4 separate regions of the Homo sapiens genome follow, and regions 2, 3 and 4 are each linked to region 1. The links are contacts of gene promoters, found by promoter capture Hi-C in human tissues and cell types (Jung and others, 2019). All regions are on one chromosome and are shown on one strand. The core of a region is centred on a gene start or on the middle of the fragment in contact, and the rest is flanking DNA. Distances in the headings are between cores, read along the strand shown. Region 1 holds the start of UBE2E1 (ubiquitin conjugating enzyme E2 E1). Region 2 overlaps UBE2E2 (ubiquitin conjugating enzyme E2 E2). Region 3 overlaps UBE2E2 (ubiquitin conjugating enzyme E2 E2). Region 4 overlaps UBE2E2 (ubiquitin conjugating enzyme E2 E2).

The links. The method cuts DNA at HindIII sites, captures the fragments that hold promoters and counts their contacts. A contact is called where the count stands out against the background at its distance.
Region 2: a fragment that was not itself captured here is called in contact with the fragment with the promoter of UBE2E1 in region 1 in 1 of the 25 tissues and cell types used here (lymphoblastoid cells).
Region 3: a contact is called between a fragment that was not itself captured here and the fragment with the promoter of UBE2E1 in region 1, in 1 of the 25 tissues and cell types used here (mesendoderm cells).
Region 4: a fragment that was not itself captured here is called in contact with the fragment with the promoter of UBE2E1 in region 1 in 1 of the 25 tissues and cell types used here (mesendoderm cells).

Annotation. Positions count from the first base shown.
Region 1 is chr3:23,803,517-23,807,204 of GRCh38, reverse strand. UBE2E1 (ubiquitin conjugating enzyme E2 E1) reads right to left here and starts at 1,250. Exons shown (of 6, transcript NM_003341.5): 1 at 1,117-1,250. It overlaps UBE2E1-AS1 (UBE2E1 antisense RNA 1), which reads left to right and starts at 300. Exons shown (of 2, transcript NR_046652.1): 1 at 300-386; 2 at 2,491-3,181. RefSeq lists silencers at 125-304, 505-804, 995-1,124, 1,205-1,314. The HindIII fragment of the contact is 15,489 bases long and covers 1-3,688 here.
Region 2 is chr3:23,424,062-23,427,656 of GRCh38, reverse strand. The region is part of intron 3 of UBE2E2 (ubiquitin conjugating enzyme E2 E2); the gene reads right to left. Among named protein-coding and RNA genes, the nearest start is that of UBE2E2, 220 kb to the right of the region's middle. The HindIII fragment of the contact is 3,466 bases long and covers 576-3,595 here.
Region 3 is chr3:23,539,430-23,542,932 of GRCh38, reverse strand. All of the region lies in intron 5 of UBE2E2 (ubiquitin conjugating enzyme E2 E2), which reads right to left. Among named protein-coding and RNA genes, the nearest start is that of UBE2E1, 260 kb to the left of the region's middle. The HindIII fragment of the contact is 7,012 bases long and covers 1-3,503 here.
Region 4 is chr3:23,364,564-23,368,142 of GRCh38, reverse strand. The region is part of intron 3 of UBE2E2 (ubiquitin conjugating enzyme E2 E2); the gene reads right to left. Among named protein-coding and RNA genes, the nearest start is that of UBE2E2, 160 kb to the right of the region's middle. The HindIII fragment of the contact is 3,973 bases long and covers 178-3,579 here.

The DNA of each region.
Region 1 (3,688 bases), core at 1-2,500:
CAAACCATGCAGCCAGTGTAAATAAGGAACTCGGGTGCTGTCAGGAGGGCATTGACCAGGGGCGCACGCGGCCGCCCACCGCCCTCCACTCGCTTTTCAAAGTCTGCAGGCCCATTAAGGCTTTTGCAAATCGGACGCGGCTTGTTTATTTTTGGCCCCAAGTGGGGAACGCTGTGGGAAAACGGTCTGGAGCTAGGAGAGAGGCCCCTCCCTCGCCCCCCGGGGCTCTCCGCTGGGCAGGGAGGGAGTAGCCCGGGAGGCGAAGGAGGGCAGGGCGGGGGGCGCGGGGCGCCACGGCGGGGCAGGGAGGGAAGGTCCCGGCGGCCGGCCGGCCTCGGGGCTGTTTTTGTCCGCTTTCCGGGGGTCGTGAGGGGCCGGTGGCCCGGGTGAGACTGTGGGGCCACGAGCGGAGTTTGGCGAGGTCGGGAAGAGAGGAGGGGCGGGAAGGAGTAAGAGAGGAAGCCGAAACAGGGGGACGGAGGCGGGGAGCGGGTGCCCGGGTGGGGGAAGGGAGAGGCCGGCGGGGGGCAGGGGCGACGAGGCCCGAGGCCCCCCCGCGCCGCGCCCCGACGCCCCTCCCGGCCTGCCTGCCTCTGGCCGCCCTGCTCACAGCTATGCGGCCGGGCGGGGGTCCGGAGCACACGCCCGATCGCCACTCCTGTAGGGGGATAGGGGCTGCGGCGGGGAATGGGGGGGTCGGCCTCCGCAGCGAAGACATAACAATGAGCCCTTCCGCCCCGGAGGGGTTAATCCCCGCGAACCCCCGCCCCTGGGGAAAACGGGGCTCCCCCAACTCCCTCCCACCCCCGCTCCCGGGCCCCTCGGTGGCCAGTGGGGGGCTCTTGGGGCAGCGCTGACAGTTCGAGCCACAATGACCCCCGTCCTCAATGCGGGCGGCCCCCGCACCCCACGCGGCCCGGGGTCCCTGCCCATCCCCCGCGGGCGGGCCCCGGACCCCTGGGGCTCCCCAGCCCCTCTCCGCTCCCCCCCCGCGCCGGCCCCGTGCCCTGCGGCCCGGCGGCCCCGGCGGCGCGAGTCGGGGGAGGCGGCGAGGGGTGTCCCCGAGGCCCGGCGGCGCGGCCGGGGGGCGGCGGGCCGCTGGGGGGATCCCCGTACCTCTCTTTGTGTCTGGCTCCTCCGTGCCGCCGCGGCGGCTGCTGCTGCGGCTGCGGCTGGGCCTGGCCACTCGTGTCTCTCTCTCGCTGGGAGAGAAGCGGAAGTGCAGCAACAGCAACTATTAAACAGGCAATGGCTTCCCCCAGCCACACACGCTCGCACACACACCACTCCTCCGCCGCCGCCTCCTCCTCCTCCTCCTCCTCGCCCTCACCCCTCCCCCACCCGGCCCGGTCCCACCCACCCGCGCTCCCCTCCCCCTGCAACACCTCCTGGGGGTGCGCGAGGAAGACCCAGGAGACCCCAGGAAACCCTGTCCCCCACAGACACCCCCACCCCAGCGCCTCCTCCGGACGCCCGGGAAGGGGGCGAGGGTTGTGAATTTTCTCTTAAGTGGTTTGGGAACCTGGATTCTGGGCGGGAGAGGGGAAGCCGATGGAGATGGGGGGCGCTGGGAGTGATTGGAACTAGATGGAATAGGGGGGTCACGAGAGAAAGTTCTTTCCAATGAGGGCTTTTGGAAAGGAGAGGAGTAGGGAGGTGGCAAATTGGTGAAAACGTTGGTAATCTGGTGGTGGCAAAGACTTTAGAGAATGCAGCGGGTACTCCACCTAAAAAGCGATTAAAGAGAAAAAAAAAATCACACAACAAGGGTTTTCTTTGGACTGACACTTGCTTCTCCTTCTAGCAATTTACCTGCTAGGAGCAGAGGTCAGTTTAGGTATGCCTGTGAGAAAATCCCAAACTAGGAATTTTCTGCTCAGGTCACGCGAGGCACGTGCAGTTTTACAATATTAGATTCTTCCACTCACTTTTTATAGAAAGTGATGTGGTTTTTTATAAGAGTGATACAAAGGTTTTGGTGACAGGTAAAACCAACGTGTAACGGGCTTGCGAATGTGAGACATCACTGGGAATAAGCTATATACTACTGAATTAGACTGGATTTAGAATTTTTTGTGTCATTTTACATTAGATGTAAGGTTTGGTTTTTGGAAATTGGATGCAAAGTTCTGGGGATCGCAGAATCCCCAGATCGCTAAATTGACCAAATTATTTTTAAAATATTAAGCCATTTTTCTCTTTCTTTAGCTACCTATAAATGCTATGCAAATAATATTTTTGAAATGATCAGCAATTCTTCTGAATTGTTCCTTATTTAGCATTTTTGCCAATTTTTTTTTAATATTAAGCCATCAAATTACGATTCAGTTTCTCACCTTTTGTCATTTCAGTTGAAGGGAACTAAAGAGATGTGTGCCATTCAAATACAACAGTGCCACACATACAAGGTCTTGTACATTAAGGAGACAGCCTCAGATTTCCATAGGTCACTCTAAATTATCTCATTCAAACTGCCATCATTTTCCACAGCAACAGTGGCTTCAGTTACCACAGGACAACACAAGATATACAGCCCATGGCATATCCAGTAACCAGGAAAACAAGCATTCTCACGACCCAGCCGAACTCCTTCTAACCATCAACCTGAAATTCCAGCTTTATCAAGACTCATAAAGTAATTGTGCATGCTTCTTGCTCAATCCCTACCAGGAAACCTGTATCTACCAGGAGTTGTCATAGAATAAGAAGTTCAAAAGCTGGAAGAAATCTTCAGGGTCATAATTTCAGCCTCCTGCTTCCAGACAGAACTATTTCTCCACCACTGAAATGCATATAGATTTTGAAAAAATTTCCAGACATAACCTTTCTTAAGTGTTTGGTTTCAGGAGTCCTGGTAGAGTATATAAAAATGATGACATTCTTTGCTATATATTTGAAAAAATTTTTTAAACTTCTGAAAAACTGATTGTATTCTTTTTGTTCTGATGAAAAGATGTAAATTCAGAAGAAAACAATAAGAAGATGAAATAAACTCAGGATGAGGAAAATAATCTAAAAATAGTTATTAAAATTGAAATTTCCTCCTATGAAAATTTGGATTTCTGATACTTAAAAATATATGTCTACATTATGAATACAACCAGTAAAAAAATCATGTGTTATAAAGACAAGAACTAGCAGAGATCACAGGAAAATAAAAGGTTTGATTTGCTGAAGTGATCAGGACAGTAGGTGAATTTTTTCTTTAATATTGGTTTGCATAAATTGCCTACCAGCTATAATAAGAATTCTTTTGTAACAGAACATGATATTTTGTGTTGTGTTACTGATGCTTGGGTTGGACTGATTCCTTGTGAAAGAAATCATGAAATCTAACAGCTCCTCCTATAAGGAAAAGTGATTTCCCAACCACCTGTCTGGAAGGTTTCTTGCCCTCTTTTGTGTACTGTTCCCCCTAATCTCTAATTCCAGCTAGCTTAAGTTAGTGCTTTATCGTTTTGGAATGACCTGATGACAGGGAATAAAAACTTCAAAATGTTTAGAAAAGAATCCAGTCCTCTCAAAAGACTAATCTTTATGTCGAATTATTTTTAAGACCTGTATGCAGCTGTCTTAGGGGAAAAAAAATTCATACACAACTTTCTATCTCTCCTTCTTATTAACTACAAGGCCTAAAAAGCTAAATTGACCTCCCTGAGCCTCAGTTCCCTCATCCATAAAGGGCAGA
Region 2 (3,595 bases), core at 1,059-3,558, 380 kb after region 1:
TAAAGTTGAGTCTTGCTTCTCATCCATGCTGACAATCTCTTGACATTTAATTTGTATATTTAGGCCACTGCTATTCAAACTGATCATTCAAATATAGTTTAATTATTATCTATTGATTTGTTACAATTTTCTATTTGTTGCCCTTGTTCTTTGTTCCTATTTTTTACTTTCACTCCTTTTCTGCCTTTTGTGGTTTTGAGCATTTTATATAATTCCATTTTCTCTCTTAGATTATCAGTTATACTTTTTTTTAGGTTGGAGAGCAGTGGCATCATCTTGCCTCACTGCAACCTATGCCTCCCAGGTGCAAATCACCTTCCTGCCTCTGCCTCCCAAATAGCTGGAACTACAGGCACATACAATGACACCTGGCTAATTTTTTTTTTTTTTTTTTTTTGGTAGAGATGGGGTTTCAACATGTTGCCCAGGCTGGTCTTGAACCCCTGGGCTCAAGCAATCTGCCCATGTCAGCCTCCCCAAAGTGCTGGAATTACAGGCATGAGCCACCCTGCCTGGCCATACTTCTTTAACTTTTTGAAAAATGATTCTCCTAGGGTTTGCAAAATACCTTTAAAACTAATCGAAGCCTACTTTCAAATAAATATATTTCAAATATATACCAGTTCACAGGTAACACAAGTACTTAATAACAAAATAATACTAATTCTTCCATCTCATCCCTGGTACCATTGTTGTTATTTCTTTCTACTTTTAGATAAGTATATATATATGTGTGTGTGTATACGCACACAATATATTGTTGCTATTATTTTGTACAGATTGATCTGTCCATTAAAAATAGGAAAAATAAAAAATTTAAAATTTTACCTGTACTTATCCCTTCTGTGATGTTCTTCCTTTTTTAATGGAGATCCCAGTTTTTGACCTATGTCATTTTCCTTCTCTCTGAAGAACTTCTTTTAACATTTATTGCAAAGCAGATCTGCTGGCAACAAATTCTCTCAATTTTTGTTTAGCTAGAAAGTCTTACCTCTTCTTCACTTTTGAAGAATAACTTTGCAGGGTATGGAATTTTTGGCTGGAAGTTTTTTTCTCTCAACACTAATTATTTCACTTCACTCTCTTATTGTGTGCATGGTTTCTGAGGAAATGTTGGATATAATTCTCTAAGTCAGGTCTCCCTGCACACCCCATCAGGCTTCATTCCAGATTTTTAATCACTGATTTTCTGTAATTTGAATATGATATGACTATGTGTAGCTTTTTTTTTTTTTTTTTGCATTTATCCTAATGCTTTCTGAGCTTCCTGAATCTGTGGTTTAGTGTGGGACATTAATTTGCAGGAAAATTTCTGTTGTTCCTGCTTCAAATATTTAATCTGTTCCTTTCCTTTTTTACTTCGTTTGGTATTCTCATCATGCATATGATACACCTATTGTTGTTCCACAGTTCTTGGATATTCTGTTCAGTTTATTTCAGTCTTTTTTCCCTTTACTTTTCTATCTTGGAAGTTTCTACTGACATATACTCAAGGTTTTAGATTCTTTCCTCAGCTGTGTCAAGTCTACCAATGAACTCATTTAAAACATTCTTCATTTTTATTTCACTGTTTTTCACCTTTGGCATTTCTTTTTGATTCTTTCTTAGAATTCCACCTCTCTGCTTACATTGCCCATCTGCTCTTCCATGGCATCTACTTTATCCCTAGAGCCCTTAGTATTTTAATGATAGTTGTTTTAAATTCCTGATATGATAATTTCAAGAGCCCTGCCATATCTGAATCTGGTTCTGTTGCTTGTTCTGTCTCTTCGAAGTGTATTATTTGCCTTCTAGTACACTTGTAATTTTTTTCTTGAGAGCTGGACATGGTGAATTGGGTAAAAGGAACTGCAGAAAATAGGGCTAAGAAAGTGGGGGTAAGAAAGCGGGGGAGGGTAGAGCATTCTATAGTCCTATGATTAGGTCTCATGACTCGTCACCCCTAAAGTTTTTCACTCTCAAGCTTGTATATCCTGAGCCCCAGCAATTTATCAATTGCAGTTCAGGTTTTCCTACTGTGATGCTGATTCCTGCAGAGGCTTCTGCTCCTGTTCTCTGTATTTGCCTGTCTCTTCAATCTGGGGGTGGTGGGAGTGGTTTACCCTGTAACCTTGCTTCTATAACAGATCTAAGAAGAACTGTTAATTTTTCAGTTTGTTCAGCTTTTTAACCTGTTTATTTTTTGACGTAATGACTTCTAAGCTCCTTACATGCTAGTCTGGAAACTAGAAGTCTAATTTTTTAAATTAACAAATTTCAGAGACAGATGGGATTTTAAAGAAAATTTAGTTGAGCTTCCCCCTTTAAAAGACAAGAGAGCAGGAAGAGAAGAAAGTTAAATGATTTGTCCAACTATCTAGGATCTATTTAATGTCATCAGAACTGGGTTAGACCCCAGCAATTCCTACCCTACTTCTTATCTGCAACTAAAAAGTAGCTGTTTTAATGGCATTATAGTTATGCTAAAAGAAATTAGTCCTTATGGACTTACTCAAGGATACATACTGAAATATTTATAAGGAAAGGATTGACACTTGGAATTTGCTTTAAAATCTGAGGCAAGATATGTTTGGTGGGGGTATAGTTAAAACACGATTCCCTGTGCATTGATAAATGTGATTTAAAGTCTTTATTATACTAATTTTCTACTTTGTATATAATTTAAGTTTTCCAAACTCAAATGTTTAAAACATGGTAAAGTAGAAAAGGATGAAACAATTGCTTATTTTGACTCTAATTATCCATAAATGTTACCACCAGATATAACCAATTTAAGATAAAACCAATTTAAAAATTATTTGGCTTAGTACCTCTGCCAAATCACTGAAGTAAAATAAACGCTACCAGTTATAAAAAATCAAACTACTTTATTTATATAAAATTCAGCTATCATACTTCTTTAAATGTTTCTATTATTTTAACATCTCATAGCTATCAGAGTACCTTAGCTCCAGCTGAAATCAAACTGACATCATTTTATGTATTTAACTACAAACCTCTTACACAATACATTAGCTCAATTTGCTTTTTCATTCTTAAATGAAACCTTATGCCTGGAGCAGAGGACCTTTCATTAGTGCTACAATTTGTACAAGATTCTAAAAATATGTTCATTAATCCAAGCAGAATTAAATTTTCTACATTTTATCCTTAGCAAGCCAAAGAAAAAGCCATCAAATTCAGTATCACTTAAAGCAAATACAGAAAAAAAAAAAAACAAAGGTGTTTAAGTCAGTTAATATGTGCTCTCCTCCCAGAAAGGCTACCTGCTCCCCTACAAGAGTAGATACCCCAGCTAGCTGCTTCTTTAGTTACTGATCATAGACAAATGAATTCATTTAGGAAATCATCTGTACCTTAACATGGTAACTGCAAGTCTCTGCTGTATTTTCATTAATATTATACTGCAGATTATGTAGCTTTTCTTTTATTTCTTAGATTTATCTGGTTCAACATAGAAAAAAAAGTTCCTTAAACATTTATATCTTATTCAATTGGGTATTTTCTGAAGGGTTTGAGAGAATAAATAACTGTGGAATTTAGTAAGATTATCAAACATTACTTACCTTTCCAAATTAGGGAACAAAAGCTTGAA
Region 3 (3,503 bases), core at 596-3,095, 260 kb after region 1:
ATATTAATTAAGAGACAATAAAATATGCATAGGGAAATGCTAAGCAAAAGCAGGTCAAAGCCAAGGCTAAATCCCTGAGGTCAACGTGTCTAAATTTACACCAAGATTATAACCAGACAAACTTAACTGACAAATATACTTTGCTGGGTCCCACCAAATTTGAGTTCCCAGAGCAAAGAGCCTCAAATAAAAATTAAATACTTATCTTGAAAAGACGACTGATTTTTAAAAATTAATAAGCAGGTATTATTTGTATAAGAAAAAATAATAAAGATACATCAATTTTGAAAATAACAAAAAGCCAATACAGAAAATACATTTTATTAAGGAATGAATCTAAAACTTTCTTTTTCACCTGAAAACACTCTCTCTCCACCATGAATACTATGAAGATACACATGGCCTAAGTTCCCCAAATGCAACTCCCACATGTATCTAAATCAAAGGCTTCTTTGCCTAGTTACAATACTGCAACTTTAAATCATTTCTCCAGCAAATCAAAGAAGCAAACAAAAACTTCCCCCAAATAGTAATTTTTCACTTACAAACTTTTACCAAATTGGACATGGACTATTAACTTTTTGAACTCATATATGATTAACCCCAACTCTAAGCTAACCACATTATTTTGATTATGAATCTACAGAAAAGATGCATTACCCGCAGATACAGAACCATTTATAGTAAGGCTGAAGTTAAAATATACCATCCCTAGTAGGCTATTACCAAGATTAAAAAATACACATCCCTCAGATAAATGTACCCTCCTACGATGACCACGGGTGGCTGGCACTCTAATATGCCTTTGCCCCAGTGATGCGGGGTTATTCATGCATTGTAAGCTGAACTCTTTTCTAGAGTTTTTCTTATAAAAATATAATGCTGGCATCCAAAGCTAGATAAACTATGAAGACATCTTCTCTAGGCCTGCACTCTTCCTAGTTTCCCTTATGTATTTAAATTAGTCTGTGTATGAACATTTTTTCCATCACAGGAGCCAGCCAGTCTGGACAAGAAAGTCACTGGAGTACACATGTGGTCACAATGTATGCAAGGAAGGTGGTTTACCTCACTGGTGTAAAGAGTCACGTCAAAAGGTACTAACTACATCAGCCTATAGGCACATAGTCAGATAGGCATTTGTTGGTTGGCCGAGGCACTTGAATAGCACAAACAATATGTCTTATTTGGGAAAATGCTTTCAGAAGGAAGACAGTGCTGAATTGGGGCGGTGGTGGGGAAGAACCATTGCATTTTCCAAAAATTCAACTTTATAAAAGCTTCATGTGGCAACAGGTTTCCCTGTAGGATACTCTTAAGCAGAAAGTTCTTCCAATACATGTAAAATATTCTGATTTGTAATTTTTTCCAGGAACAGACCTGCTCCAGAAAGAAATATGCTAGTAATTTAGGCAAACTCTTGTACTGCTTATTGTGTGAATTATTCACCAATATGACATGAAAAATTCAACAGCCATAATACACATTAAGCTCCAGGATCTACTAAAGAACAAATATGAAGAGAAGAAAAAGAGAAAGTAGTTATTACAGTTGTATAGGAATAATTAATCTGACATTTTGGAAGCGCTTTCTTTTCTGAGGAAGAGGCACTGTGAGTGTTGTTACTGATAGCACCTTGCCCAGGCTAGATACTGAATGAAAAGTTGAGTCAGAAAATAAGTAAAATAAAGAGAACTGCCCATTTGTTATGGGATCTGACTCAGACATTGGTAGTGTTACATTAATTCTTCAAATTTTCATAATTACAACATTTCTCCCAAGATACTGTACAATCTTAAGTATTCACAGTAAAAAGAGAAAATGTCATTCAATCATCTGGATGTTTTGTCCACACAAGTCAATTACTGAATAATTAGAGTTGTTTTATTATGCTGTTTCAGATTGGAATTTCCATAACACTAACAATGCATTATTTTAATTTCAAATATGTATTGTTTAAACATGCTGTTTAAATAATTTCTCTTAATTTCATGTTTAAAAATTTCACATTTAAAAAGCCTGATTTCACATTTAAACTAGCTGGGTATGGTGGCATGTGCCTATAGTCCCAGCTCTTGGGAGGTTGAGGCAGGAGGATCACTTGAGACCACTTGAGCCCAGGAGTTCCGGTAGGGGGCTGCAGTGAGTTCTGATTGTGCCACTACAGTCCAGCATAGGCAACAGAATGAGGTTTCATCTCTCTCTCTATTTTTTTAAAAAGGTGTCAGTCTGCCAGGCACGGTGGCTCATGCCTGTAATCCTAGCACTTCGGGAGGCCAAGGCAGGAGGATCACGAGGTCAGGAGTTTGAGACCAGCCTGATCAACATGGTGAAACCCCGTCTCTACTAAAAATCCAAAAATTAGCTGGGCGTGGTGGTGCGCGCCTGTAATCTCAGCTACTCAGGAGGCTAAGGCAGGAGAATTGCTTGAACCCAGCAAGTGGAAGTTGCAGTGAGCTGAGATCGCACCATTGCACTGCAGCCTGGGAGACAGAGTGAAACTGTCTCAAAACAAACAAACAAACAAACAAACAAACAAACAAAAGGGCATCAAACTTTACTCAGTGGCTTATCTTCCACAGGGCACATGCTGTATCTTTTAGTAACATACCCTTAAGTTCACCACTGCTAACTTAATTCTGATGCAGCAACCTGTTCTGACATTTACTAGGTCTTGTTTAAAAATGGTTTTCATGAAAATTAATGGTATTAAAACAATATTATCTGAGAATATTTAGCTACTCGGGAGGCTGAAGCAGGAGGGTTGCTTGAGTGCAGGAGTTCGAAGCTGCAGAGAGCTATGACGACACCACTGCCCTCCAGCCTGGGAGACAGAGCAAGACCCCATCTCTAAAAATAAATAAATAAATAATAAACAAAAAACCCTAATTCCTAAACCTTACTAAATATAGGTGAGTTCTGAAGCTGGGTGAGGGACACACTGGGACTTATAATAACCATTTTCTCTATTTTTTGTGAATGTGTGAAAAACCCACTTCAGCCTTTTCCTTGGTAAAGGAGAGTCTAGAGGCCATCTAGTTCACACATTTTACCTAATATTTCCTATATGTACTTAAAATTATTACGTCTTCACTTAGTGAAAATTTCCAATTCATTAAAAAAAATCAGTCTGATCTTTTCTCAATTATACTGAACTAGTAAGATTTTACTGTACCTGCTATTACAGAACACACCAATCAGAAACCTGAAATGGATGCGTGAACAACTCTGTAACAGTCAAAAAGAAACAGAAAAGGAACCACAGATTCCCACTCTAAGGGATTTACCTTCCTACTTTAAAAATGCTGGTAGCACTTTATAGGTCAAGTAAAGTTGACAGATACTCCCTGCGTTAGAAGTAAGGAAACAGAAGTAAGGAAAAGATACATGAAGATGATAAACACAACACTGTATTTTCTTATTTACCAAATGGAAGTAATTTCTCCAAAGGCCCTTTTAGTTAGATAAGAGATAAGGGTGAAACTTTAAACTTTAAAAGCACT
Region 4 (3,579 bases), core at 915-3,414, 440 kb after region 1:
TTAAAAAATATTGATGTATACTAGTTTGAAAAAAACACAGTACATAGGAAATCAAATGCCATCACAAAATGAAAATGCTAATTAAATGACCACTTACAAAATTAGACCAAAGCCAAATATCTATATGTGTATCGACCATTCTGTGTACGGAAAACCACAGTTCCTCTGCTCTCACACCACAACAAAAATCAACACAGAAGATTTCTGTGAGCAAATGTGTGAAGAGTTTTCCCCACACAACAAGCAAGCAATCAATTCTGCAGTGGACACCAGCTGGGTGTCCTCCAATTCAATTCTGACACTACCTAACTGGAGGTAGTTTCAGATCCCACAAAGTGAGGGCTCAGTCCACAAGACTGCCCTCCCACCCCTCCGCCTTTGCACAACAGTCACAAGTCTGGGTCTCCAGAACGTCTGCCCACTGGCTTCCAGTTAGGGTTTCTGCAACCCTGTCTTTGGGTTCAATTAATCTGCCCGAACGAAATCACGGAACTCACACAAATACTTAAGCTTACTTCCACATAGATACTGCAAGGGATATAGATGAAGACATGCATAGGGCAAGGTATGGGGGGAAGGGGCACAGAGCTTCCATGCCTTTCCTGGGCATACCACCCTCTGCGTGATCAGTCATCAAGCAGTTCTCCAAACCCTTCGAGTTATTATGGAGGTTTCATAACATAAGCATGATTGATTAAACCACTGGCCATTGGTGATCAAATTAACTTTCAGCACAGATGTTGGTGTGACTTTCAGCCCCACCCCTCTAATCCTGCCTTGGTTTTTCCAGTGACCAGCCCCCATCATGAAGCTACCTAGATGCTGCCAGCCATCAGTCAACTCATAAGCAAACAAAAAGACATCACTTCAGAGTTTCTAATACCAAGAAACTGGATTGTAAACCAAATATATCACAGCCATTCTATCATAAAGATTGGTTTGTCAACAAACACAGGGCAAATTAATTCCATTTTATAATGAAACTGAAAATCACTTAAAAGATTTCATGAAATCCATTAAAGGGATGATGGAGAACTGCAGGATCACATTCAAAGGCCCTGATGAGAAAATCAAAAAGGATAATGACAGGATAAATTCTTCAGAATGACTTGTCTGCCAAGGACTAAGAGAGTCCCTTAGAAAAACTGATAGAAGCAATTTACTATTTTTTTGTAAAAATTATGTGCTATTGTACATACAAAAAATACCAATAAACACTAATTTTCATTGTTCTTCTATAATTAGAACATAGTTTCTGTTATACAAATTTTCTTAATTGAACTAAAATCAACTTATATGTCTAAGTTTTAGTGTAATTTTTCACAATTTACTCTAAATGTCTGATCCCAGGGTATTTTTTTCTTCTTTTTTTTAACTTTTAGGTTCAGAGGTACACGTGCAGGTTTGTTATACAGGTAAATTGCATGTCACAGGGGTTTGGTATACAGATTATTTTGTCACCCAGGTAATAAGCATAGTACCCAACAGGCAGTTTTTCAATCCCCTCCCTCCTCCCACCCTCCACCCTAGGAGGCTCTGGTGTCTGTTGTACCCTTATTTGTGTGCATGTGTACTCAATGTTTACCTCTGACCTGTAAGAGAGAACATGGGGCATCATGGCTTTCAGCTCCATCAATGTTGTTGCAAAGCGAAGGATCTCATTCTTTTTTAATGGCTGCATAGTATTCCATGGTATATCCATACTGCATTATCTGGTCTACCACTGATGGGTATTTAGGTTGATTCCAAGACTTTGCTATCGTGAATAGTGCTGTGATGAGCACACACATGCGTCTTTGTGGAGAATGATTTATATTCCTTCAGGTATATACCCAATAAAGGGATTGCTGGGTTGAATGGTATTTCTGTTTTAAGTTCTTCAAGAAATTGCCACACTACTTTCCACAATGGCTAAACTAATTTACACACACCAGCAGTGTATAAGTGTTCCCTTTTCTCCACAACCTCAACAGCATCTATTATTTTTTACTTTTTAATAATGGCCATTCTGACTGGTGTGAGATGGTATCTCACTGTGGTTTTGATTTGCATTTCTCTAATGGTTCGTTTCAATCTACTGCAAATTGCTAGCCAGTTATCACAGCACCACTTATTATATAGAAAGTCCTTTCCCCATAGCTTGTTTTTGTCGACTTTGTCAAAGATCAGATGATTGTAGATGTCTGGCATTATTTCTGAGCTCTCTATTCAGTCTCATTGGTCTGTGTGTCTCTTTTTGTACCACTATTGTGCTTTTTTGGTTATCGTAGCCTTGTAATATAGTTTGAAGTTGGGTAATGTGATGCCTCCAACCTTGTTCTTTTTGCTTAGGACTGCTTTGGCTATTCAGGCTCTTTTTTGGTTCCATACGAATTTAAAAATAATTTTTCTAATTCTATGGAGAATGTCATCAGTAGTTTGATAGGAATGGCACTGAATCTGTAGACTGCTTTGGGTGGTATGGCCATTTTAAACAATCTTGATTCTTCCTATCTATGGGCATGGAATGTTCTTCCATTTGTGTCACCTATGATGTCTTTGGGCAGTGTTTTGTAATTCTCATTTAGAGATCTTTCACCTCCCAGATTAGCTGCAATCCTAAGTATTTTATTCTTTTTGTAGCTATTGTGAATGCGATTGTGTTCTTGATTTGGCTCTCAGCTTAGATGATGTTGGTGTATAGAAATGCTACTGGTTTTTGTGCACTGATTTTGTCTTCTGAGACTTTACTGAAGTTGTTTATCAGATCTAGGAACTTTTGGGCAGTGGCTATGGGGTTTTCTAGTTATAGAACCATATCATCTGCAAACAGAAATAGTTTGACTTCCTCTCTTCCTCTTGGCATTGCTCTTCTCTTGCCTGATTGCTCTGGCTCGGACTTCTAGTACTATGGTTAAGTATGAGTGGTGAGAGTTGGCATCCTTGCCTTGTTCCGGTTCTCAAGGGGAATGCTTCCAGCTTTTGCCCATTCAGTATGATGTTTGCTGTGGGTTTGTCATAGGTGGCTCTTATTATTTTGAAGTACATTACTTCAATGCCTAGTTTGTTGAGGGTTCTTAACATGAAGGGATATTGAATTTTATCAAAAGCTTTTTTTCCTGCATCTATTTAGAGGATCATGTGATTTTGTTTATAATTCTGTTTTTGTGGCAAATCACATTTATTGATCTGTGTATGCTGAACTAACTTTGCATCCCAGGAATAAAGCTTACTTGATCACAGTGGATTAACTTTTTGATGTGCTGCTGAATTTGGCTTGCTAGTATTTTGTTGGGGACTTTTGCTTCTATGGTCATCAGGAATATTGGCCTAAGATTTTCTTTTTTGTTGTGTCTCTGCCAGGTTTTGGTATCATAATGATGCTAGCCTCACAGAATGAATTAGAGAGGATTCCCTCCACCTCAATTTGTAGGAGCAGTTTCAGTAGGAATAGTACCAGCTTTTCCTTACACATTCAGTAGTTTGGCTGTGAATCTGTCTGGTCCTGGGATTTTTGTGATTGGCAGGCTTTTTATTACTGATTCAATTTTATAATTCATTATTTGTCTGTTCATGGATTCAACTTCTTCCTGGTTCAAT